Regions from separate parts of the Homo sapiens genome. Here regions 1, 2, 3, 4, 6 and 7 are each linked to region 5. The links are contacts of gene promoters, found by promoter capture Hi-C in blood cells and fetal thymus (Javierre and others, 2016). All regions are on one chromosome and are shown on one strand. Each heading gives the region's core, a stretch centred on a gene start or on the middle of the fragment in contact. The rest is flanking DNA. Distances are from core to core; before and after follow the strand shown.

The links. Contacts are between HindIII fragments. The CHiCAGO score rates a contact against its expected background, and 5 or more counts as called.
Region 1: a fragment that was not itself captured here is called in contact with the fragment with the promoter of CHD1 in region 5 in 3 of 17 cell types (erythroblasts, total CD4 T cells and total CD8 T cells); the score reaches 6.2 in erythroblasts.
Region 2: a contact is called between a fragment that was not itself captured here and the fragment with the promoter of CHD1 in region 5, in 2 of 17 cell types (total CD8 T cells and neutrophils). The highest score is 5.7, in total CD8 T cells.
Region 3: a contact is called between a fragment that was not itself captured here and the fragment with the promoter of CHD1 in region 5, in 8 of 17 cell types (fetal thymus, non-activated CD4 T cells, total B cells and 5 more). The highest score is 16.4, in fetal thymus.
Region 4: a contact is called between a fragment that was not itself captured here and the fragment with the promoter of CHD1 in region 5, in 13 of 17 cell types (non-activated CD4 T cells, total B cells, total CD8 T cells and 10 more). The highest score is 44.2, in non-activated CD4 T cells.
Region 6: a contact is called between a fragment that was not itself captured here and the fragment with the promoter of CHD1 in region 5, in 1 of 17 cell types (activated CD4 T cells). The highest score is 5.5, in activated CD4 T cells.
Region 7: a fragment that was not itself captured here is called in contact with the fragment with the promoter of CHD1 in region 5 in 4 of 17 cell types (total CD4 T cells, total CD8 T cells, non-activated CD4 T cells and 1 more); the score reaches 11.0 in total CD4 T cells.

What each region holds. Positions count from the first base shown.
Region 1 is chr5:103,099,351-103,102,772 of GRCh38, reverse strand. All of the region lies in intron 4 of GIN1 (gypsy retrotransposon integrase 1), which reads left to right. Among named protein-coding and RNA genes, the nearest start is that of GIN1, 19 kb to the left of the region's middle. The HindIII fragment of the contact is 2,224 bases long and covers 953-3,176 here.
Region 2 is chr5:102,794,624-102,797,852 of GRCh38, reverse strand. The region is part of intron 1 of PAM (peptidylglycine alpha-amidating monooxygenase); the gene reads right to left. Among named protein-coding and RNA genes, the nearest start is that of PAM, 41 kb to the right of the region's middle. The HindIII fragment of the contact is 8,006 bases long and covers 1-3,229 here.
Region 3 is chr5:103,137,171-103,140,692 of GRCh38, reverse strand. PPIP5K2 (diphosphoinositol pentakisphosphate kinase 2) reads right to left here. Exons shown (of 31, transcript NM_001276277.3): 5 at 2,224-2,309. Among named protein-coding and RNA genes, the nearest start is that of PPIP5K2, 19 kb to the right of the region's middle. The HindIII fragment of the contact is 1,046 bases long and covers 1,155-2,200 here.
Region 4 is chr5:103,117,493-103,120,906 of GRCh38, reverse strand. It overlaps GIN1 (gypsy retrotransposon integrase 1), which reads left to right and starts at 769. Exons shown (of 8, transcript NM_017676.2): 1 at 769-843. It overlaps PPIP5K2 (diphosphoinositol pentakisphosphate kinase 2), which reads right to left and starts at 606. Exons shown (of 31, transcript NM_001276277.3): 1 at 419-606. RefSeq lists enhancers at 206-265, 316-505, 536-795, 631-1,131, 1,132-1,633. The HindIII fragment of the contact is 679 bases long and covers 1,175-1,853 here.
Region 5 is chr5:98,927,602-98,930,870 of GRCh38, reverse strand. CHD1 (chromodomain helicase DNA binding protein 1) reads left to right here and starts at 1,864. Exons shown (of 36, transcript NM_001270.4): 1 at 1,864-2,332. CHD1-DT (CHD1 divergent transcript) reads right to left here and starts at 2,309. Exons shown (of 4, transcript NR_151718.1): 1 at 2,229-2,309. It overlaps LOC100289230 (a long non-coding RNA gene), which reads right to left and starts at 1,737. Exons shown (of 1, transcript NR_036530.1): 1 at 1-1,737. RefSeq lists enhancers at 1,131-1,460, 949-1,847 and silencers at 1,621-1,830, 2,091-2,720. The HindIII fragment of the contact is 7,543 bases long and covers 190-3,269 here.
Region 6 is chr5:102,777,376-102,780,842 of GRCh38, reverse strand. The region is part of intron 1 of PAM (peptidylglycine alpha-amidating monooxygenase); the gene reads right to left. Among named protein-coding and RNA genes, the nearest start is that of PAM, 24 kb to the right of the region's middle. The HindIII fragment of the contact is 634 bases long and covers 1,456-2,089 here.
Region 7 is chr5:102,758,440-102,761,638 of GRCh38, reverse strand. The region is part of intron 1 of PAM (peptidylglycine alpha-amidating monooxygenase); the gene reads right to left. Among named protein-coding and RNA genes, the nearest start is that of PAM, 4.7 kb to the right of the region's middle. The HindIII fragment of the contact is 746 bases long and covers 976-1,721 here.

The DNA of each region.
Region 1 (3,422 bases), core at 815-3,314, 4.2 Mb before region 5:
GGCTAATTTTTGTACCTTTTTTCTTTTAGAGACAGGTTTCACCATGTTGCCCAGGCTGGTTTTGAACTCCTGAACTCACATGATCCACCTGCCTCGACCTCCCAGAGTGCTGGAATTACTGGCGTGAGCTACCGCACCCAGCCCTTTCATTTCATTCTTAACCATAATTACTTGCTAATGGGTAATGTGTACCTGTTGACCACTGCTTAACTTCTCAGACCTTGGGATCATATTGTACACTGCCACCCTCATTTCCTGTTTCACACTGATTTTTACATAGTAACTGCTTTTTATCACAGCATTCGATGAAGAAAACAGTTCTGTAAAGATATGATGTCATCAAACAAATTGTAACCTGATCTAATGTTGAAACTGAACTACCTTAAACTGGTAGTTTTCATGGTGTCAAACAGATGTTAAGGGGGCAACTTGGCACAAAGTTTGGTAACAATGGTTTAAATGATAAAGCTAGTGTCACAAATGTGTCTAGTAGAGGAGGATCATGTAATTAATTAACAGGTAACAATTTGCTAATTGTTTAAAATTATATCTGTAATATGATTTTAGAATCCAATACCAAAAGTATTTTCAGGTAAATTAAAAGAATTTTAATTTTTAAAGTAGAAACAGAAAAAAATATATTTGACATTTAATCTCTAGAAATGGAGGTCACATTCTAAACCTAGGAATAGTGGTATAAACTTCAATGGAAAAACATTAAATTTGGCTGCATAATAATAGGAGATTTATGTGGTAAAGTAATCAACATATAAAAGCCAATCTTGCAAATAAAGCAAGATAATTTTGTAAATGAAGGCAAGGTAGTCTTGCCTGCCTTGATTGACATAGCAGTGGTCTGAGCAATGGAGTACGTAAAGGCCATCCAGTTTGGGGGAAGGCTATTGGAACTTCTATTTATATTTTTTAAATCCCAAAAATAAGAAATGAAGCTTTATTAATAATGTATACGATTGATAATAGCATTCTGACTCAATCAACAAGACATGTATGTCACACATGCTATGTGAAGGTATCCTGAAAGAAAAGTGAGAATCCACATGTTTCCTCACCCATACTTTTGCTTTCAGCAGTTGAATGAAAGTATGGATATCATCTAGCATTCACCACACTACTCACAAAATGGCCAGGGAGCTTAGATTTTTGCAGTGAAAGCAGATAATACTAAAAGGCAAACACCCATCATCAACCACAAGAAAGTGATAGCGCCGGCACGTCTATTTAACTTCCAGCTCTTTGTTAGACACATCAATGAGATGAATACAAATATTAACTACAATAGTCCCCATTTATCTGCAGTTTTACTTTCTGAGGTTTCAGTTCCTATAGTCAACTGCAGTCCAAACATATTAAATACAAAATTTCAGAAATAAATGATTTAAAAGTTTTTTAATTGCACACCATTCTGCGTATAGTGATAAAATCTCATGCTGTCCTGCTCTGTCCAACTGGGACGTGAATCATCTCTTTGTCTAGCATATCTTCATTGTATATGCTACTCTCTCCCCATCATTAGTCACTTCATAGCTGTCTTGGTTATCAGATCAAATGTAGTGGTTAGTAGTGTGTATCCAAGTTACCCTTATTTTATTTAAGAATGCCCCCAAAGTGCAAGAGTAGTGATGTTGGCATATTGTTAATCGTCCTATTTTATTTTTAGTTGTTAACCTCTTACTGTGCCTAATTTAAAAATTAATCTCTATCATAGGTATGTATGTATAGGGGAAAACATAGTATAAATAGGGTTAGGTACTACCTGCAGTATCAAACATTCACTAGGGGCCTTGAAACATATTCTCTGAAGGTAAAGGGAGACTATAGTTATCAGATCTGATAGGAAATTAGGCATCAAAATTCAAAATTATCAAGAATACTCTTTGAAATATCAGTTCACTTCCACTTTTATTGATGGAGAGCCTTACCCTAAGTGCATATAATGTTTCAAGGTATTTGCTAATGATAATATGAAGCCATTATGATTAGCTAGCAGTTTTTCCAGTCGTGTTTAAAGTCATTTGATAACCAAACCAGGACTTTGAAAATTTTTCTAAAGGTAACAATAGGGCCAAGCATGGTGGCTCATACCTCAGCTTTTTGGGAGGCTGAGGTGAGAGGATAACTTGAGACCAGGAGTTCAAGACCAGCCCATGCAATACAACAAGACTCCGTCTCTACAAAAAAAAAAAAAATTTTTAATTAACTGGACGTGGTGTTGCACACTCATAGTCCCAGCAACTCAGGAGGCTAACGTGTAAGGATTGCTTAAGCCCAGGAGGTGAAGGCTGTAGTGAGCTATGGTTGCACCACTGCATTCCAGTTTGGGCAACAGTGAGACCCTGTCTCAAAAAAATAATAATAATAATAATAATAGGCTGTGCTCAGTGGCTCATGCCTGTTGTAATCCTACCAGCCAGATTGCTTGAGCCTAGGAGATCGAGACTAGCCTAAGCAACATGGTGAAATGCCATCTCTACAAAAAATGCAACAATTAGCCAGGAGTGGTAGGGCACACCTGTAGTCCAGCTACTTGGGAGGCTGAGATGGGAAGATCGCTTGAGCCCAGGAGGTTGAGATTGCAGTGAGCCAAGATCATGCACTCTAGCCTGGGTAACAGACTGAGACCCTGTCTCAAAAAAAAAAAATAAAAAATAAAGGGTAACAATAAATATTTGCAGGCCTATTTTGTGAGATTGCTTAAACAAAAAACCAAAAAAGCGACATATGATTGGGAAAACTTGTTCTTTTTGCTGTGATTAAAATGGCTTCACTATTACACAGAAAGCATAACGATGACAGTACAAAATGAACTCTTTTGTCAGCAAATACTGATGCAGAAAACACTGCTAAATATTATAACATAATACACAATGTGGGAGGTTTATTGTATAGTTGAATAAAAATACAGATGTTTCTAATGGCTTAGCTTAGAGTATTTGCTAAATTGTTCCAATAAAATGCACAAAGAACTTTTTGTAAACCTCTGAAGGAAAGAGAACAAACATATTCAGTAGGAAAATTAATTTTTTTAAATGTCTTACAGAAAACTAAAATTGTAAGAACTGACGGAATATCTGGTTTGATGGTTGGGGGGCTGACAGAGTAAGGATGTCAAGATACCATTTCACAAATGGATTCCCTGGATCATTCCTAGGCAAGCTTTTGAAACAAAGAAGTTAAAGCCTTTTTCAAGGGTCATTTCAAACCATTAATCAAGACTCAGATTGAAGCTGACCCAAATGACACCTATTCTTTGGGATTTCTTTCTAATTTTGAATTAAAAATAGTCACCCTGAATTAGTATGTATATCAGCTAGGAAGTGTATTCAATCCAAGTAACAGACTTCCTTTCCCTATCTCAATATATTAATATATATTGTATATATATTATCCCAATATATATTGGG
Region 2 (3,229 bases), core at 409-2,908, 3.9 Mb before region 5:
AGTAGTAGTAGGAACAATGGCCTAAGCATACAGGAAAGGTGGAAGGCTAATACCATGTACTTTATATGGCTTCTAACATGTAAATACATTTGACCTGATACTATTTTAAAAAAATGTTTGTATTTAGCAATCTGATTATACTTAAATATTCTTAAAACCTAAATGCTGGAACATTGCCAATTTTCTCTTCTCTTTCCTACCAAAATGACATATCTCTATCAATAATTCTTTGGAAAAATATTCAAGGCACTCTCAGAAAAATTATTGTGCTTCATTATGCAAAATGGAAATGCAGCTTTAAAAAATATTCTGCCTGACATTCAGTTCTGTATACTGCTACAGCAGGTCGAAAGCCATTAGCCACCTGCTGAAAACACATACTAGGAAACAAAATGTCCTTCAAAATCATTTTGCATAAGGTATTCTCTAAGCAAAAGGGTGAGGTTATATTCTAAATGTTTATGAATGTGATGGCTCAGAAATACACTCACCATGACATATTAATTTTAAAATAATATTTAATAATGATCTTATGATTTAGAGCATTCACATTGGATTTTTAAAAGCACCATGTCTATTATGAGAGAAATGAAAGTTACAGAAGATACATAAAATAACCAGTTCCATGGCTGTTGTTGTCTCCTTTTCCAATAAAAATAAGAGACTCATTATTATTCCTGGGATTCTTAGGACAATCTCTTTTATGCCAGTAGTCTTCTGAAGAATGACCCAACAGTCCTTTGGTATGTTAAAGATATTCTTTAAGTCTGTTTTTTACAGAAGAAGCAAAACACCAGCCCTTGTGCTGTTGCACATTCAAAATAATTCACAATTCATTTTTGTTTAGCATTTTGAAACTTGGCAATGAAGCATATGGCTCTCTATCATTATTCTATTATTAGGTTCCATTAGCAATAATTAGATAAATGGTCATTTAGCACTTTGTACAACCAGGTACTGAGTTAAGTGTTAGACACACCTTAATGCATTCAATCCATGTAACGACTTTATGACACAGGTAATATCTATTACCATTTTACAAATAAGAAAACCAAGGCACAAAGAGGTTAAGCAGCTTGCTCATAGTTACACAGATAGCAGATGACTATTTCAAAAAGGGAAATTTATAGCTTCCCTCATGTAAGATGAGGGAATGTGAGCTTCTGAATGTGATGAGCAAACGAAAGAAAATGAAGGAGGCAAAGTACAAAGAGAGTTGAATGAAAGGACTGAATTGAAAGAAATGCTTTCTCTTTCACAATTTTCTCTAATCTTATTTGGCTGACTGTGGTGCTCAAAAAAATGACAATAAACAGGTAAGAGAATTATAATCTTACCAAGAGCAAAGATGACTCCTACCAGACTCCTACCAGACACTAGGAAGATCAATTTTTCTTGCCTTATTTAAAAGGTGAATTTCCACTGTGTGGAACTGCAAATATCCAATCTCATTGCCCAAACTCTGGGATGACATCTGGGAAATAAATAAACATTTTGGTACCATGTCAGATTCCCTGGTTGCAGAGGCACAGATCGATCTATGAGTCCTAGACTATTGACCGACAAACCTGGTTCCTAACATGGATTGCAGGTGACCTTTGGAGACTGACTTCATGAAGGGCCCATGGAGCTCACAGACTATTAGCTACAGAGGGTCCAACTCCACTGGTGTTGCCCTCATTAACTTGAACAAATAAAAACTTGTTTGTACAGATCTCAAATTACCTCCTGTTACAAATGTCCAGTGCCTCTTCCAAGGGCCCAGATCCAAAAATCTGTCAACAGATCACAGGAGTTTTTGCTGAGGCTGGTGCATATTCTGATTTGTTTGGATCATTTAGAAGCCTTTAAACAAAATATCACAGGCCTCTAAATCTTCAAGTATAAACTAAAAAAAATAACTCATGGTTAATAAACTATGAACTCCAACAAAATGTGTCTGACAAAATGGAAATTGTAAAACATTTCAGGAAAAAATGCACTAAACTCTCTGATAATGAGGTTGGAAAAGATTCCCTTTTCCGCACCCAAAACAAAGGAATGAAAATCCCTGCTTTAAGTGAAGAGAGTTGCCATTTATTTTATGGCTGAAGACCAAATTATACATATTTTTGTGACTTTCCGTTAGGGATCAAGGTCAATCACCAGATTTTTCTCTCACACCAACCACACGGCAGCAGCACAAATACGTATGTTCCTCATCCCTTTCACTGTGAATTTTTAATTTTGGTTTTCCCTCTCAGAGCAGCTAAGATTTCTTCATTTGTCAAAAGGGTAGCCATTAAGAAAGTCATTTAGTTAATAAACAAGGAAATTAGCTAGCCTGATACAAAACAGATAGTAACAACACTAACAGCAATCTGTACACGCAAATTAAAGCAGCGAGAGTTGCTCTGATAAGCACTTTTAAACTGTTAGTGGTACTCCAAAAACGGCATCACCAGTATTAGAGGTTAGACAGCAGTTTAAAACATTTCTTCCTGTCTCATTTGGTTCCTGCAAAAATCTCAATAGTAATTTTTGAGTTTTACCTAAGGATGTGCAGAGAAAGACATCAGTAGAAAGAGGAAACAAGAAGTATCAAAGTAGGATAACTCATCTCCCATTCCAAGCACTTTTCTTTTTCTTTTTCTTCTCTTCTTTTTTTTTTTTTTTTTTTTTTTGAGACATTGTCTCACTTTGTCACCCTGGCTGGAGTGCAGTGGTGCCATCATGACTCACTATGGCCTCAACCTCCCGGGTTCAAGTGATTCTCCTGCCTCAGCCCCACAAGTAGCTGGGACTAACAGAGCCCACCACCACTCCCAGCTAATTTTTTTATTTTTTGTAGAGATGGGGTTTCCCTATGTTGACCAGGCTGGTCTCCAACTCCTGGGCACAAGTGATCTGCGAGCCTCAGCCTGCCAGAGTGCTAGGATTACAGGTGTGAGCCACCGCACCTGGCCCCAAGCATTTTCCTGCATCTTCTTTTGTTACTCTTTGGAGCAACCAGCTAATGCTTGTTTAAGTTTGAGGAAAGCCAAATAACCTAAGTAAACAACACAATGGACACAGGACTTGTAAATCTCATGAAAGACAATGCCAGATTTTAAAGTACATAGTCATCAAACAAAAAAATTAGCATCAGAATGTTCATAGCCACATGTAAATGTTCTATATTTTTTAAGCTGATAATCTCTATTTAATTTGTACATGTAATAATTTTTTGGTGGTGGAATCAGCATAAATA
Region 3 (3,522 bases), core at 428-2,927, 4.2 Mb before region 5:
GCTAATTTTTTGTATTTTTAGTAGAGACGGGGTTTCACCGTGGTCTCGATCTCCTGACCTCGTGATCCGCCCGCCTCGGCCTCCCAAAGTGCTGGGATTACAGGCGTGAGCCACCGCGCCCGGCCTGAAGGATAATTTTGCTGAATAGAATATTCTAGGTTGGAAGTTTTGTTTTTCCTTCAACACTTTGAATGCCATCACACTCTCTCCTAGCCTATAAGCTTTCTGCTTAGATGTCAGCTGCCAGTTGTATCAGAGCTTCTTTACATGTTATATACATCTATTCTCTGGGTGCTTTAAGGATCTTTGTTTATCCTTGACCTTTGAGAGTTTAATTAATATATGCCTTGAGATAGTCTTATTTGGGTTAAATCTTCATATTCTTCTATGACCTATGCATATTCGTATCTTTCTTTAGGTTTGGAAAGTTCTGTTATTGCTTATTTCAATAAACTTTCTACCATGATCTATGTTCTCTTTAAGAGCACTAATTCTTGGATTTGTCCCTTTGAGGCTATTTTTAAGATTTTTTTTTTTTTTTTTAACATTTTCCCTTCCCCTTATTAACTACGTAGGTCCCAAAGTTCTTAAAGAAAAACGAAGAAAGGAGTGGGCTAAAAAGATGAAAAGTGCTACCTGGGAAGTTTGTTCAAGCTCCTCTCTCAGGTCTCTTTAGTCCTGTAAGTGTGTTTCATTCTTTTCCTCTCTTTCTCCTCTGGCTATGGATTTTCACATAGCCAGTTTTCAAGCTCACTAATTCTTCTACTTGATCCACTTTGCTGTTGAGAGGCTTTGATATATATTTCAGTTTGTCAACTGAATTTTTCAGTTCCAGAATTTTGGCTTGTTTTGAATTATTTCAATCTCCTTGTTAATTTCTCATGATACAATTCTGATTCCTTCTCCATGTTACACTGAAGTTCTTGAGCTTCCTCAGGACAGCTATTTTGAATTCTCTGTCTGAAAGGTCACATATCTCCATCACTCCAGGATTGGTAACTGGTACCTTATTTAGTTTGTTTGGTGAGGTCACATTTTTCTGGATGTTCTTGATGCTTGTAGACATTCACTGATGTCTGGGTATTTACAAGTTAGGTATTTATTTCAGTCTTCACCGTTTGGGCTTGTTTGTATCCATCCTTCTTGAGAAAGCTTTCCACATATTCAAAAAAGACTAAGTGTTATGATCTAAGCCTGAGGTCACTGCAGCTGTATTAGCACTAGGGGGCGCCCTAAGTCCAGGAATGCTACAAACTCTTGCTGACTCCTAGAGGCACCACCTTGGTGGACTAATTTTTTGGTTCTTATGAAGGTGCATTCTTGCATGGCTAGTTTATAATTTGGTGTTCCTGTGGGGAGTGGGACAATCACTGGAGGGTATATTTGGCCATCTTGTTCTGCCTCCCCCCTAGTTTTTAATAAAAGATGGTTTAAGGTATGATAAATTCATCAAAATTCCCCACAATACTAAGTGTGAACAGAAATGTTAACTCAAGACAAACACGTATTTTGCCTTGTGACTAAGTTAGGTATAGCTTCCATGCTATGTTTTAGATAACCAGAAAAAAAGGAGCAAACAGTGCTTTAAAATATTAATAAATACTTAGAAGTACTGTTGCCCCTTGTCATACGCGGTGACTGGTTCCAGGAACCCCCTCGTATACCAAAATCTTCACATACTCAAGTCCCACAGTTGGCTCTGCAGAATCCATGTAAATGAAAAGTTGGCTATCAGTATATGTGGGACCCACGAATTCCGTATTTTCAATTCATGTTTATTCCATGAATAAGCAGACCAGCACAGTTCAAACACATGCTGTTCCAGGGCCAACTGTATTTCCAAATTCTTGGCCAGTATTTAGTTTTTGGCATTGTAGCATGAAGTTTCTAATACTTAATTCAATAGTCATAGATAAATCACTTGTTCACCTTTAATCAATACACATTTACTTGTATGTAATTTCAAAATTCTAACTCATGATTCTTAGAGATATGTCAAAAGTAGGCCAAAGAAGAGAAGGATAAATAATTCCTAAATTATTAGGTAGCCTTTTAACTCAGTGTCACCTTTTAATTGAATATGTTTGTCTGTTTAGATTATTTTTTAAAATGGAATAGAATACTATGAATTCTTTAAATTCCTTCCAGTTAATTATTGTAAGAATGTGGCCCAAAAGTATGTCAAGTGGCAAAGGAAGCTTACCTAAAATCTCTTACTCTTACCTTTGGGATTATTTGGGTCACGGTTCAAAATAGCATAACGAGGAAGTAAAATACCTTCAGCTTGAAGAATACTATATACTTCTCTCCTGAAGAAAAAGGGAAACATCCTTATTGTTTTATTGCTCCATTTCACAATGAATATATTATTGTAGTTTTCTTAAAAGACATTATTGTTGTTCTATAACTAAAAAGGGTATATATCTCAACACTTTTTATTTTTTAAATAAACAAATGTCACTTCGAATATTCAAAAAAGGTATTCTGAGGAAATATTCAGCAATAAGAACACAAATTTATGCACAATTCTTTTCTAGCTTATTGAGAAACTAATTATTAAAACTGAGAACATAAATGTATTTTAAAAATGGCTGAATAAAGTTGATATTATCACAATGATAGAACATTACCTAAGCATTAAAAGCCTTATGCTTAAATAGTATTTAATGACATGGAGAAATGTTCACAGCATACTAGAGAAAAGTGATTCTAATTTGGTAAAATGTGATTGTTATGTATGTATTGTTTTCTATAGGAAAAAAATATGATAGATACAGTGACGATTAAATGGCTTTCGGTACGCTTTTACTTTTCAAACCATTTAAAACGAACATACATTTCTATAGCTATAGCTGTATATATAAAAACACATATATATGAATTAATATGTAAATGTAGAGAAAATGTTTTAAATTTTAGATATTAATAATGTTACTCTCTGGAAGAATAGAAAAAAATAAAGTGAAAAAACCATAAGGTCTCATATTTACAAAGCATTTTTCATACACATAAAATCTCATATTGTAATGGTAAAACAAGAAAATAGAATGCTGGTGAGATTATGAGAATAGCTATAGGAGTGAAACATTGATTGAATGAAATACATAAATACACTCATATTTTATAATTTATTAGAAATCCATGCTTTTTACCTGTTAAATGAATGCTAAGATATACAGTATAATATTTTTCAAAATAGGTATACTTTACCATTTAAAAAATCTAGTTATAGGCCGGGTGCGGTGGCTCACACCTATAATCCCAGCACTTTGGGAGGCCGAGGCAGGCGGATCACAAGGTCAGGAGATCGAGACCATCCTGGCTAACACGGTGAAACCCTGTCTCTACTAAAAATACAAAAAATTAGCTGGGCGTGGTGGCGGGCGCCTGTAATCCCAGCTACTCGGGAGGCTGAGGCAGGAGAATGGCGGGAACCCGGGAGGGGGAGCTTGCAGTGAGCTGAGATCCCGCCACTGCACTCCAGACTGGGCGACAGAGCCAGACTCCATCTCAAAAAAAAAA
Region 4 (3,414 bases), core at 265-2,764, 4.2 Mb before region 5:
TGTGGGGTTGACAGAGAGAGGGATAAAGACTAAGGCAGAAAATTTTTTAAAAAGCCACCTCTACCCACAGCAGTCCCATAACTCGAGGCTAATCACTTCAGTGGAGCCAGGCACAGCGTGGGGTAGAAGCTCAGCGGTTCCCTTTTAGCTGATCTTCAATTTCTGGCGTCTCGAACCCAAGAAATGAAAAAGGGAAGCCATGGGGGAGCAGGAGGAGAAATCAAGGCGCGAAAGGACCCTCAAAGCTGTACTGTCACTCCACGCCCAGGCTGTCATTCTCTCCAGCACAAGCCCCTCGGTGGAGCATGTGTTTAGGGTCTGCAGAGCACAGGAGACAAAGCAGAAGCCCAGCAGCCGCCTCAACCCTGGCATGATCAGGTTCCGCATCTCCGGTTCTCCTCCGGTTTTGGGCCCTCACCTGCCACGAATGCGGTCGTCACGCGAGCAGTTGTGAGATGGTCAAGCCCATTCAGGTCTAGGTTACCCCCTTTCATCCCGGAGGCAGGGGTGAGGTGTTTGTCAAGAGACTTCAGTTGTAGGCGTGGACGTAGGCTACTTCCTTCAGTAACAGCTATAGGGCCACATAAGGGAACCTCAGGCTACTACACCTCAGGAATCTCCGTCACGCCTCTTCCCCGCCCTCCTCGGGTCTCACGCCGAAACCTCACCGGGCGGAACGATTTCCGGCAAGAGCCAAATGATCAGTCCTAACCTTTCTGACCGTGGTTCCAAGGTTCCCCAAAGGACTGCCCTCTAAAGGACCCGGGTAGTTCCGCTTCCGGCAGCGCGAGATAAATCACGAGAGGAAGCTTAAATCTGTCGTTTGAATTTAGGACCACCTCGGTGAGTGGTCGTTCTGGTGTGCTGTGTCATACCTACTGTTTTTTAAAGTGAGGCGTAACCCGACAGTAATTTCAAAACCATTCGCCTCGACCGGCCTAAGGAAGGGTTTAATTGAGTCTGTGGGGAGATTTTGCGCAAGCGCCTTTGAGATAGGAGGGCCTTGGGCGTTGCGATGTCCCGCGCTAGCTGAGCAGAAAGGGCGAGTGCTGTTTCGGGCCTGGGGAGGTGCCTACTGGGTGTAATTGAGTTTTACCAAACGGTCATTTTCCTGCTGATTCTGAGTGTGGTTGGACCTTGCCCTTAAGATTCCGTTAACGAGTCGCCCAAAGCTTAGGAAATGCTCCCTCACAGCGTTTGAGACTAAGCACTTTTGGCCGGCGTTGAAGAATTCTCCCCATTACTTTGATCAGTCATTTAATCAGAAATTTTGCCCCAAATTTAAATACGTGGCGGGGAGAAACGTGAGGTCAAGAGGGAATCCTGTCACGTAGTTTTAAAAGAAAAATGTCCACTTTATCTCAGTGTAGGTTTTTCTTAAATGGGCATTTCTGAACCAAAGTAGATACTTTTTAAAGTGGAAATGCATTTATCCCATGTGGCTTCATGTGAATGCATATGGCGATGAAGGCATTTTTTTGTTCAATGAATTTGTACTCTGAAGTGAACCAGATTACAGAGAAGTGTATTTAAATTTACAGGTCCTTGACGTTGCATAAAATTGTGCGTGTCCATTTTTTGGAGCTTAAAATAGAATAATTCAAATGTCAGAATTCCGATCCAAGTTAACATGTTGATTGAAAATTGCAGATTTTAAGATGGAACCAGCGGGTATTATAACCTTTTAGGGGCTTAAATTGGTGGCTTTGTTTTTAACCCTTGGTGAAACAGTTAAGTCCTAATCTTGACATAATACCTAACTGCCTTACTTTATTGAACACAAAATTATTAAAGGAATTAAGCAATGAGTTGATTTTATTTGCTTTTATGGAGGGGACAAAGTGTATAAAGCTTAACCAAATGTGACCCTGACATTCCTCTTGCAAAACTACAAGTTGTAATCAATCACTTTCATTTTTTCTTATTCCTACATGTTTAAGTACATTAAGTAATGATTTTAAGAGAAATTCTTGAAAATATGAGCATATCCAAAGAAGTCCCAGGACAGTCTTTCTTTATGTAGTAGAAACCACTTAATCCCCCTTGTAAATGATACCTTTACTTAGCAATCAGAGTATAAGAAGATATTTATATTTGTCTCGAATATTACAGTTTCAAGCCATTTTCTCATATGTATGGGCTTTGAAAAAAAAAAAACAACTTTCATTTACGTTACTTTTGTATATGAATACCAATTATTAGCAGTAAAACTTTTAACTACTTCAAAGGCTATGCTTTTCGTGAACTGAGTTTTCTTTCTTACGCATTTTCTATTTCTCCTTGTCATCTGTCTCTCTACCTCCAGAACCAGCAGTTTGTGAACTGCATTAGACTGTTATATCGTTATAAAAGGATACAATTCGTGAGTCTTCTGATTATTTTCTTCTTAGCACTGAAGCTTTATAAACATTGCTATAAAACATTAACACCATTAATGAAAGGAAAGAGATTTTAAAATATTTTTTCATGTAGGTGAAGATTTTGGGAAAAGAAAGGGTTTTATGTTACTTTAAACAGCCTGATATGGATGATAATACTTAGATATGATAATAATTATACATTACCATATACAAAGGACTTTTAATCATCCTCGTAATTGCAAAAAAGGGATAGATATTATGTCCTTTTCCAAACATAGATACTAAGGCTTAAGTCTATACCTTCTTAGACACAGTTTACTTATAGTGCCATGTATGTGAAAGTGAACTGTAATGTTTTCAAAAGTGAAATAATTTACCTCTGGAATATTTGCTATAATTTTTAATTCTCCTTTCAGGAAATGCAGGTAATTCTTTATTCATTCACAAATAGTTGAGTGTCCACTGTGTTCTGAACATTATGTTAAACAATGTAAACATAAAAAATTAATAAACTCTTTCCATTCCTCATTTATAATCTAAATTATTGATTACAAAAATCACTTTATAATTTGTGTAACAGAGGCCTGAACCAAGTATTATAAAAGCTAAGGATAACAAGTAATTGACTTACTGGTATAGCAGGGGGGAAAAGCGTGAAATTTGAAGTAAGAGACACCAAGTTAAAAGTGTCAGCGCATGTACTCACTTTATTACCTTGAGTAAATTGGACAATCTCTGAACCTCCATTTTCCTACCTGTAAAATGGATATAAAACTAATACCTACTTCATGAAGTACTGTGAGGATTATCATAGTAAAATACTGCATAACTATTTGCAGCTGTAGTCGTGAGTCACTTAGCAATGGAATAAATTCTGAGAAATGCTTTGTTAGGCAGTTTCAGCATTGCACGAATACAGACTCTACCTACATGAACCTAGATGATATGTGTGTGTGTGTGTGTGTATATTTTTTTCTTCATATAGAGAACCAAATGTCCCTGCACATTATTGGGTATCATTTATTTCTCCTACTTGATCTGCAGTGCTAATATC
Region 5 (3,269 bases), core at 615-3,114:
AAAACGTAAAATAGACTGTATATACAGTAATTCTTTTCATAAGACAATGACAAAATGTCAGAGTTGTAATTGAGGACTTTATTAACTGAACTATACTTCTGATTACAACATTCTGTGTATGTTAATAGTTTCTCTGGAGAAATTACGGGCACAGGAAGTTCCTCTCATTAAGGATATTAACATAAAGCTTAATATGAAAAATTAGCACTCAGTTCAGAAATGACGACTTCAGAAATGACTTCAGAAATGACGATTTGTATGATCTTTTCATTCCTCACAACCCAGTATTAAAACTATCTAATATTGCAAAGGATGGTAGTGTTCCACTTCGTTTTGCTATTCAATTATTGCTGATAGATACATGTTTTCAAAAAGGCCATTGGCATCTGTTTGCTTTCTCCTACTTCTCCAAGTGAATACACCCTTCAATATGTAGTAAATACATATGTGGAGTTATGTTTTGAGATTTTTTTGAAGGATTTGAACCAAACTGTTTAAACAGCTGGTAGCCTAAAACTGGAATATTTCCCACAAGGGAAAAATAATTATTTGGGGAATGTATGTTACCACAAACTCATCTGACTTGGAAAGTGCGCCTTTACACCAAATCAAATAACTGAACAATGGGATTAGAAACTTTTAATTATTATTAACCTCGGCCACCGGGCGCCGTGGCTCACGCCTGTAATTCCAGCACTTTGGAAGGCAGTGGCAGGTGGATCGCTCGAGCTCAGGAGTTCAACACCAACCTAGCAACATGACAAAACCCCGCCTCTACAAACATAAATAAAAAACAAAAATCATTAACCTTGAGTGAGTCAAGTTCATCTGCAGACTGAAAAAAATAAAGTGTAACAGAATTTTGATTTAAAAAACGCTTTCAAAAAAGCATTTCAAAATGCTCTAAGTATGTTTCAAAAATACACTTAAAAATATGTTTCCAACACACTGAAGGGATTTAACTAAGATCCACAATTACAGTTACGATACAAACTGTAAGCTAAAAGGCAGCAACTTAAGCTGAGACAGTTACTAACATCCCTCGAGCAGCGTTTTTTGTTGCGATTCGGCGCCGCACCCGTCACCCCGCCCTCCGGGGAGGAACCTAGAAAGGAAGGGTGGTACATTTCTAAACCAGGCCACCCACACATGAATCAAGCGGCATCACAGGCTGTCAACAACCGGGTCTCTATTTTCTCTCCTCCTCCGGCGCCCCGCCCGTGCGGGACATCAGCTCCCAGGATGCGTCAATCGCAGATCGCCCAAGCGTAAGAGGTGGCGAGAGGCCACCACGGTTGCCCAACAGTTGCGTTCCCAGGCTGCCTGGTGTGACGCAGCAGCCCCCGCCCGGACCCTGAGGCCTGGCGCTCCGACTGAGCCGAGGCCTGTGCTACCCGACACTCCTTGCGACCCGGCCCCTTAGGCTTATTCAGCGCGGCCCTTCCCGGCTTCCCGAGTCCCATCGCAGTCTCTCCCCACCCCCGTTCCTCCCCGGTTCCTTGTCAGTGTCCGCCGCGATGTCCTTGCGCAACCATCCCAAGTGACATTAGCGCCCATACCCGCACGGAGCGAGCCTGAAGCTCCCACTTCCCGGAATTCAACGCCGGGCCGCTAAGGGCGGGCACCCAAGCGAGGATCAGCGGACTAAGGCCGCGACCAGAGTCCAGCGGTCTCCGCGCAGTCAGAGTCCGACAGCCTCTGCGCATCCGCCGTGCGCACTCCCATTCGTGCGCGTGCGCGCACTCGCCCCCCCCGCCCCGCCCCAGCACCAATCGCTTTTTTCCTACGCCCACGACCCTTCAACGTAGTCCCTCCCGCCTCCCGCGCGCGAGCAGAAAGGCTTCGGCGTGCGCGCGCCCGCCCGCCTCGCGCTCTGTCGGGAAGGGGAGTGAGCAGAGGCGCTTACGTCGCGCGGGAGGCGGAGGCGACGGCGACCTCGGTGGCGGCGGCGGCTACGACGGAGACGGTTGCGCTCGCTTGCTTTCTCGGCGTCATGGCGGCTGCCGGGGGCAGATAAGCGGAGGGAGCGGGAGCGCGCGCGCGACGGCGGCGGCGGCGGCGGCGACGACTGGTTACTTATAGCTCTTGCTGCCCTCGCCCTTGGTGCTTCAATAATGAATTGTTAGCTCCACTCCGCAGGGGATCGCGCGTTGGTGCTGCGGACCGGGGCTTCCCCTTCCCCTCCGCGTCTGTCCCCTTCCCCCTCCCCCGCACGGACTCTTGCTTACCCCGAGACGCCGGAGCCCTAGGACTGGGCGGCGGAGATCCCGGGCCTGGGCGCGGGGGAGGCCGTCCACCCGAGTCGGCTCCCTCCGCCCCGCCAAGCCCGCCGGTAAGAAAGGGGGCGGCGGGCGGGTCAGGATGTGGCGGAGAGGACAGGAACCGGCCGGGCGGAGGGCGGGCGCGGCGCGGTGCCCAGGCGGCGGCCCAGCGGCCGGGTGAAGGCCGGGTGGCTCTGTGAGTGCCGGTGGCGGTGTACGGGCCTGGCGCGCAGGGGGCGTGTGAGCGGCGAGTACAGGCCGGGGCCGCAGAACGCATCCTTGCGCCGGCCCGGCGGCCCTGCCCCGGCCTCTTCGGCTTGGTGCCGACCGGGCCGCGAGAGGAGACCCGCGAATGGCTAGCACTTAGCCGGTGCGTGGGTCCTGCCGCGACCCGGGCTCCCAGCACGTGGGGAGCGGCGGGAGGGGGAGGGGGCGGCGGCTCGGGCGAGCCTGGGAGGGCGCGGGGCGGGTCTGCGGGAAGTTTGAGGCGGGAAGAGGGACTCCTGGACCGGGATGGAGGCCCTGGGAGAGGGGGGCAGGTCCGCGAGGGAGGCTGATTGGAGCGCGCTGGATGGATGAGTGAGGATGGTTTCCAAACCTCTTTCGAGTGCCGCTTTAAAAACTTAGCAGGAGCAAAGCAACTGCTAAAAGACAGAGGATTGAAGAGGTTTAATAACTTAGGGTAGTCATTGTGGAGACGCTTGAGAGGACACAGCGCTGTGTGCGCTTGGAGCTTCAGAACTCAGGGTTGTGAAAAGGGTCTCAGAGGACTTATTCGGATAAGGGAGATGGAGGGGAAAGGAAGTTAAAATGTACAGAGAAAGCCATTTTGAGGGACGAAAGGAAGGTGAAAAGGAAAGAACGAAAAGGGGAGTGAACTTTTTAAAGGAAGAAACGGGAAAGGCAGTTTGTTAACATACTTAGATTTTTTAAGACTTAATTGTTCAGTAAGGCACTTTGACTAGGGTTGAGATTAATATTTAACATTAGGAATAAATGTTGAGTAGA
Region 6 (3,467 bases), core at 523-3,022, 3.9 Mb before region 5:
AGACAGAGAAAGAAAGAAAGAAAGAAAGAAAGAAAGAAAGAAAGAAAGAAAGAAAGAAAGAAAGAAAGAAAGAAAGAAAGAAAGAAAGAGAAAGAAAGAAAAAGGTGCTGAGGTTAAGAAACCTGCCTTAGAGCAATGATTTTTCATGGGATGCAGTACTGCCCCCTAGTGTGAGATTCAGAAATCTGGTTGTCAGGGCTGGTGTGGGGAGAGCTGCCAGCAAGAGTAGGCAGGAGTTCAGTCGGGAGGTACACCATGCAATGTGCACGACCTTTTTTTAATGAAGTACGGCACCACATCCTACTTAACTCTCAAATGTCCTACAAATCACATAGGTAATAAATGTCTTTATGATGAGCTAAGCTTACGACCCAAATCCATTTTACATAAAAACACAAGTATTTTTTACATGGTTTAAAACCCCTTATGTTTAGAAATGAAGTTACTACATGAATCAAGAAAGACAATATTTAGTTTTATTTGAAATTTTGCCAAGAATTGCTCATCATTTTGGAAAAATCACATCACCAACAACAATGCCAATGGTGGTACAGTAGTCTTCCCTGATCCTCGGGGCATATCTTCCAACACTCCCAGTAAATGCTTAAAACTGTGGATAGTGCTGAATCCTATATATGCTATGTTCTTTTAAAATTTGATAACCCAGATGGCTAACAGGTGAGGTGGGTAGCATATGTAATGTGGATACAGTGGACAAAGAAATAATTCACATCCTGGGTTGGATGGAGCAGGGGGCACACGTTTTCATCATGCTATTCAGAATGGTGTACAATTAAAAACTTATAAATTATTTGTTTCTGGAACTCTCCAAATTTTTGGACCATAGTTGACCAAGGGTAACTATATTAGGATTCCCTGGAGGGTCAGAACTATTAGGAGATATATACATATATATATGTGTGTATATATATATATATATATATATATATATATATGTATATGGGAGTTTATTAAGTATTAACTTACATGATCACAAGGTCCCACAATAGGCCGTCTGCAGGCGAGGAGCATTGAGAGCCAGTCCAAGTCTCAAAACTGAAGAACTTGGAGTCTGATGTTTGAGGGCAGGAAACATCCAGCATCCAGCATGGGAGAAAAATGTAGGCTGGGAGGTTAGGCCAGTCTCACCTCTTCACATTTTTCTGCCTGCTTTATATTCACTGGCCGCTGATTAGATTGTGCCCACCAGATTAAGGGTGGGTCTGCCTTCCCCAGCCCACTGACTCAAATGTTAATCTCCTTTGGCAACACCCTCACAGGAACAATACTTTGCATCCTTCAGTTCAATCAGGTTGACACACGTATTAACCATCACAGTAAATGAAACCACAGATAAGGGGGGGAATACTTTATCTGAGTGGTCAATATAACAAAGACATCAATCTGCATTTGTAGCTGTCACACATACTGTTATTCTACATATAGGATCAAGCTTTTGAACACTTCATTAGGTCTTATGGTGTAATCATAACTAAACATTTACATATTGAATGAAATACACATTATCTTATTATAAATTACTTATTCCTGTATTGCTCTTTTATATTAAAGTTAGGAATTATATATATACATATATATATATACACATATATATACACACACATATATATGCATATTTTTGAATTACACACTTAGGCAGGTTATATTACACATAAATTTCATTTCTTGGTAATAAAGAGGGCACTGCAAAACATATGCTATGAAAAAGGAGACACTGGATCCAATAGGGTTGAGAATCTTTGTATTATAAAGTACCTCACTCAATTCCTTCACTTTGCAGAAGACAAGTTAGAGGCACAGAGAGAAGCCCATCAGGTTTTCTGACGGCAAATCCAAGGAGTTTTCCACAACAGATAATTCTATTCTATTCTGATCTTATATTCATACTATTAGTAGATCTCTGAGAATTAAGGACTGCCTGATTCAAATGCACACAAAGTATTCCCTCCAAAAACACAAACGGGTAAACCTGACCTGTATAGCATCTACATATAAAATATTACCATGGGAACCACGACAACTACAAACTGAGAAAACTGTCATCACCAACCCACCAGAAAACTAAGCTTCGTTCATTTGGTTGCTTGTCTATGCAATCTTCCATGTAAAAATGAAGTGAATGAAAATAAAAATGACTCATTTCAGAGGTTTCTAATTTGGTAAGATTTAATCACCACAGCTCTCAAGTTTCCTCTGGAACAAAATGCCACAGACCAGGCTTTGGAAGGAAAACAATAATAATAATCTACTTGAGCAGTCCCATGATTCATTTTATCCATCATATGGGGTCTAGTTTTTATTTCATTCTAAATGCCAGGGAGACCAAATGCCAGTTTTGATTATTCTGAATCCTTAATATGATTTTTGGTAATGTTACAGTCTCCTTCCTGAAACCTTAATTTTTCCTCTTGTTTACTTGTCAGGTAAACATTAATTGAATGCTCCTTGTCTAAAATACTATATAGAATGCTCTGGGCAATTTTAAAGTAAAGACAAACTGTTTGCCTTTGACAATGTTACCATCTTATGGGGAAGATAGAACGAATATAAACATATAAATACAAGTATAGGGCAAAATCAAGGACCATGCAGAAGTGCAAATGCAAGTATTACAGGGGAACACAAATCAACTCTTCAAAAAAATACATGTGGGGAGGTGAGAGGAGAAAGGCAACTCACCCGCCTCCTTTTTAATTCTCTATGGTGCAGGCTTTCTCCTTTAATTTTTTTTCTGTCTAACAGGGGTCCAAGAGGTGCTTACTTGATCTCTAGCAGGCTAACCCCAAGACGGCACAATGCCATTCAGGTGTTTTCCACAATTCCGCCTGCAGAAGGAATGATCGCAGGTCTCTCAAGGGCAAACCGAAATTTGGCAGGTGACCTTTCATTTACAGCATCACAGAAGAAAAATACATAGAACCACCCCATGTTAATCGCTAATCTAGCAAACCAACTTTCTCTCTTTTTATAATCCGTAAAAACAGAAAACAATAGCTTAAATGACCTCTGCTTTGTAGGGAAAATTAAAAAGGGCTTAAGCCAATATGCTGTCTATTTCTGGGGGGAAATAAAATACCTCTACAGAGGAAAACAGGCCCGGGAATGAATGGTGACATTCCATGTTCCTCACATATTCAAGTATAAATCACTTACCTCTTAGCTGAAGGGCTGTTTTCTTATCGTGAATTTTACCTACAGATTCCTTCTGGGAAGAAAGGGCCTCGTTTGGGCTAATTTTTAAATTCTCTAGTAGAATCCCTCTCTCAGACAATTAGGTCTTTTTTTTCCAGAAACTCCCACTTAAATACTTGATTTTACTAGAAATTTTATTCATTTAACTAATATTTATAGAGCACCTGGTATGTCCCAGGAAACTGTTGTGAAAATCCCAACCTAAGGAGCTTCAATTCTAGTGGGAACAGATAATAGGGCTGGGGGAGTAAATT
Region 7 (3,199 bases), core at 99-2,598, 3.8 Mb before region 5:
CAAATGAGTACTATTTTAAAACAAACTTACTTTGGCATAAATAAGTGAAATTCTCAAGATATGAAATTTATAAGGCATTTTTAGCCACGGAAAAAGCAGGTAGTAGTATGATTCTTCCATAAGGGCCTCAGACTTTACTTTTATTTATTTCTACCACTGTTTTTGTTTTGCTTATGTTGTACATGCAGCAGTGAACTGTACACTCAATGCAGGTAAAAACCGTCCTTTGTTACTGCAACTGTTGGCTGGACCTATTATTCTTTGTGCATTTGCTTCCCAGTACTTGTGGCCCACACTCTCTACAAAATGAGCTTCTCCTATCTGATAGGGAAGCAGATCTGCTGCTTTGATTGTTTCCTTAATTCTGCGGTGTCATTTAAAGTTGTACTTTAAAGTATTATGTTTTATATTTTTTGAGTCCAGTTCCCTCCTTTCTTGAAGCTACCCTCTTAAACTCCCTGAACAAGAGCCATCTGGAAATCTTGTTCCTGTCCTCCATCCTTTCTGTGAGACCACACCAGCACAGCTGGGTTGCAGCAGGCACTGCCGAGGTGCTGCTGGACTGGCTATGCTCCAGACCCTCACTGTTAACATGCAATTCTTGTCCTTTTGTGTTAAGCATGGTTAGTAGACAAAGCTCAAGACAGTGTTCAGCAGTTCAATCTCCTTTGGGCACAGATCCTAATCTCACAATCACACATGATTTGAGTAACGCTGTTTATATGTAGAACTTCTGTTGCTACATGGTCCCAGTCTGCCCAGTCTCCAAATTGACAGTGTAGATACTTTTCCACTTTTCTTTTCCCCAAGAGGCCTGAACTAAGTACTGTATAGGTTATCCAAACAGAAATATTTTCTTTGTATTAAAGGGACTCCTGTGAATCTAACATGAAGTCAAACATCATTTTTATGCTGTCGAAATCAACAACTTCTACTGTCTCTACTCACTCACCAACACAAACAAAATTTGAAGCTTTAAACCAGCAATGTCCAATAAAACTATCTGCAATGATGGAAATTTTCTATATCTTCTCTGCCCAGTACAGTATCCACTAGCCTTGTATGGCTATTAAGCATTTGAAATGTGGCTACTGCAACTGAGGAATGGATTTTTAAAATCGTATTCCATTTTTAATTAATTTATACTTAAATTTAAACAGACAATGTGGCTAGTGGCTATCAATAATTAAGGGTCTGAGATTTTTATCCTACTTGCAGGCTAACGAAATCAGGGTGCCACAGTTTCATGGGGATGCTGGAAGAAGACAGAAAATTCTAGGGTGAGAAACAAAGGACTATACTACTCACAAAAATATCAGTAGCAGTAGTATCAGCATAGTTGTGCCAATGTCCTGAAACTCAGTTCCCCCCATGTGATGTGAAGCAGATACTTGATGATCTGCATTGTCAGAGGGGAACCCTGAGCTTAGGGTACTTGAATCTTTTAAACTGGACAGTAAAACCTACCTGCCCTTTGCTTCAGAGGGAAAGAATACCTCTATCTTCCAAAACTATCTACCATACAAATGTCTTTAAGAGAGTCTGGGATGAAAGCAGTAAATGCCTTTGCTCACAAGACATGCAAAAGTCTGAGTGACTAATGGAGAATTGAATCCCAACATAGGGGTATCATACATATCTCTGAAATCCACTCATCTCCCACCTGCTTGAATACCTTGCTTTTAGCCACACTTAATTTCTTCCTATGACCACGGTAAGCTTCCAAATGGTTATCTTTCTTCCACCACTGCCTCCTCCCACTCATTCTCTATACAGTAGCTAGACTGCATCTTGTAACACAAATCTCATCTTGTTTCAGTCTTCAATGTCACCCACTGTCCTTAGAATTAGGCCACCCCTCCTTAGCAAGTTCCACAAAGCCAGTGCTTCCCTTGCTTGTCCGTTTAAGGTTTATGCCTTTAGCCACATTAAACTCCTCTCAGTTTCTTACATGTAGAGGTCATAAAGTGGTGGCCCTAGGTTGAATTCCAACTACAGATTTGTCTGGTTTGGCCCACAGAATAGTTTTTAAAACATTTGGGTTAGTTCATATTTGGGAGATTTCATATTTATAAAATATGAATTTTAAGCTCCTCTTTAGAAATCAAGGCATCTGGCAACACTTGGCCTGCATCCCAACCTGACAATACTTGGCTGAAATGAGTATCTACTTTTCCCTTTAGACAGCTTGGATTCTCCAGATTGCCACGCCTCTCCCTCCTGCTCTTACCTATGTATTGTTTAACATTTTCTGCCTGACTTCCATTCTAAGGCATCATGCTCCCTTTGGTCTCTTTCAATCTTCCCACCTCTTCAGCTGCTAACTACCACTCATGCTTCAGGTCTTCATGTATTCATGCTGCTAGGAAGTTTTCCTTCACCACCACCAACCCAATTAGGATGAGATGATGCACTGTGTGACATTCACCTACCCAGGACCCTGCTATCCTATCTTCTGAGGTTCTCTTCACTACCCTTATCATGGCATGAATCATATGGCATTATAATTTTTTAAAAATTTTCTTTATAAATTTATAATTCTCTGTTTACAGATCTGCATCCCTCTCTAGACCTTTCAGTCATAAGAAAGTGACTATAACTGTCTTGTATACCATTGTATGTCAGTGCCTAGGAAAAAGCCAAACGTTTAGTGTGGGCTGAATAAACACTTGTTGCATAAATGAATGAAAAAAGTTAGCTGAGGAATGGCTATTTCAAAATATTGGGGAAGAGTGTATTTATATTTTTATATATGTATTCATTTTTAAAATGTGGACCACTGAAATTCCATTCCTTCCCCCCTCCCCCTACCCTGGAGAAACTAAAATAACTACTTGAGTCATAGAGCAATAGCTGTATACTGGCAATGTGCTAAGAACCACACATGGATTAGCTCATTTAATGCTGACAACAGTCCTTTCAGGTTAGTATTTCATTATTCCCATTTTGGAGAGGTAAACATTCAACCCCAGATAAAATGAAGGCCTTATTCTCCACAACACAGTAAATTGTAGGGATACATGATGACTGAAATTTCTGCCAGGATACCTGAGAGCACATGACACCAACAGCAGCTTTATTCACAGCCCATCTTTTGAGCTATTTGTATGTGGTTTTAATAATTAGCTTTCGCATTCAAATGGTAAAGAAAGTTCTTATACACACAAGAAGCATTTATGGCTATTATACCAGATGACAC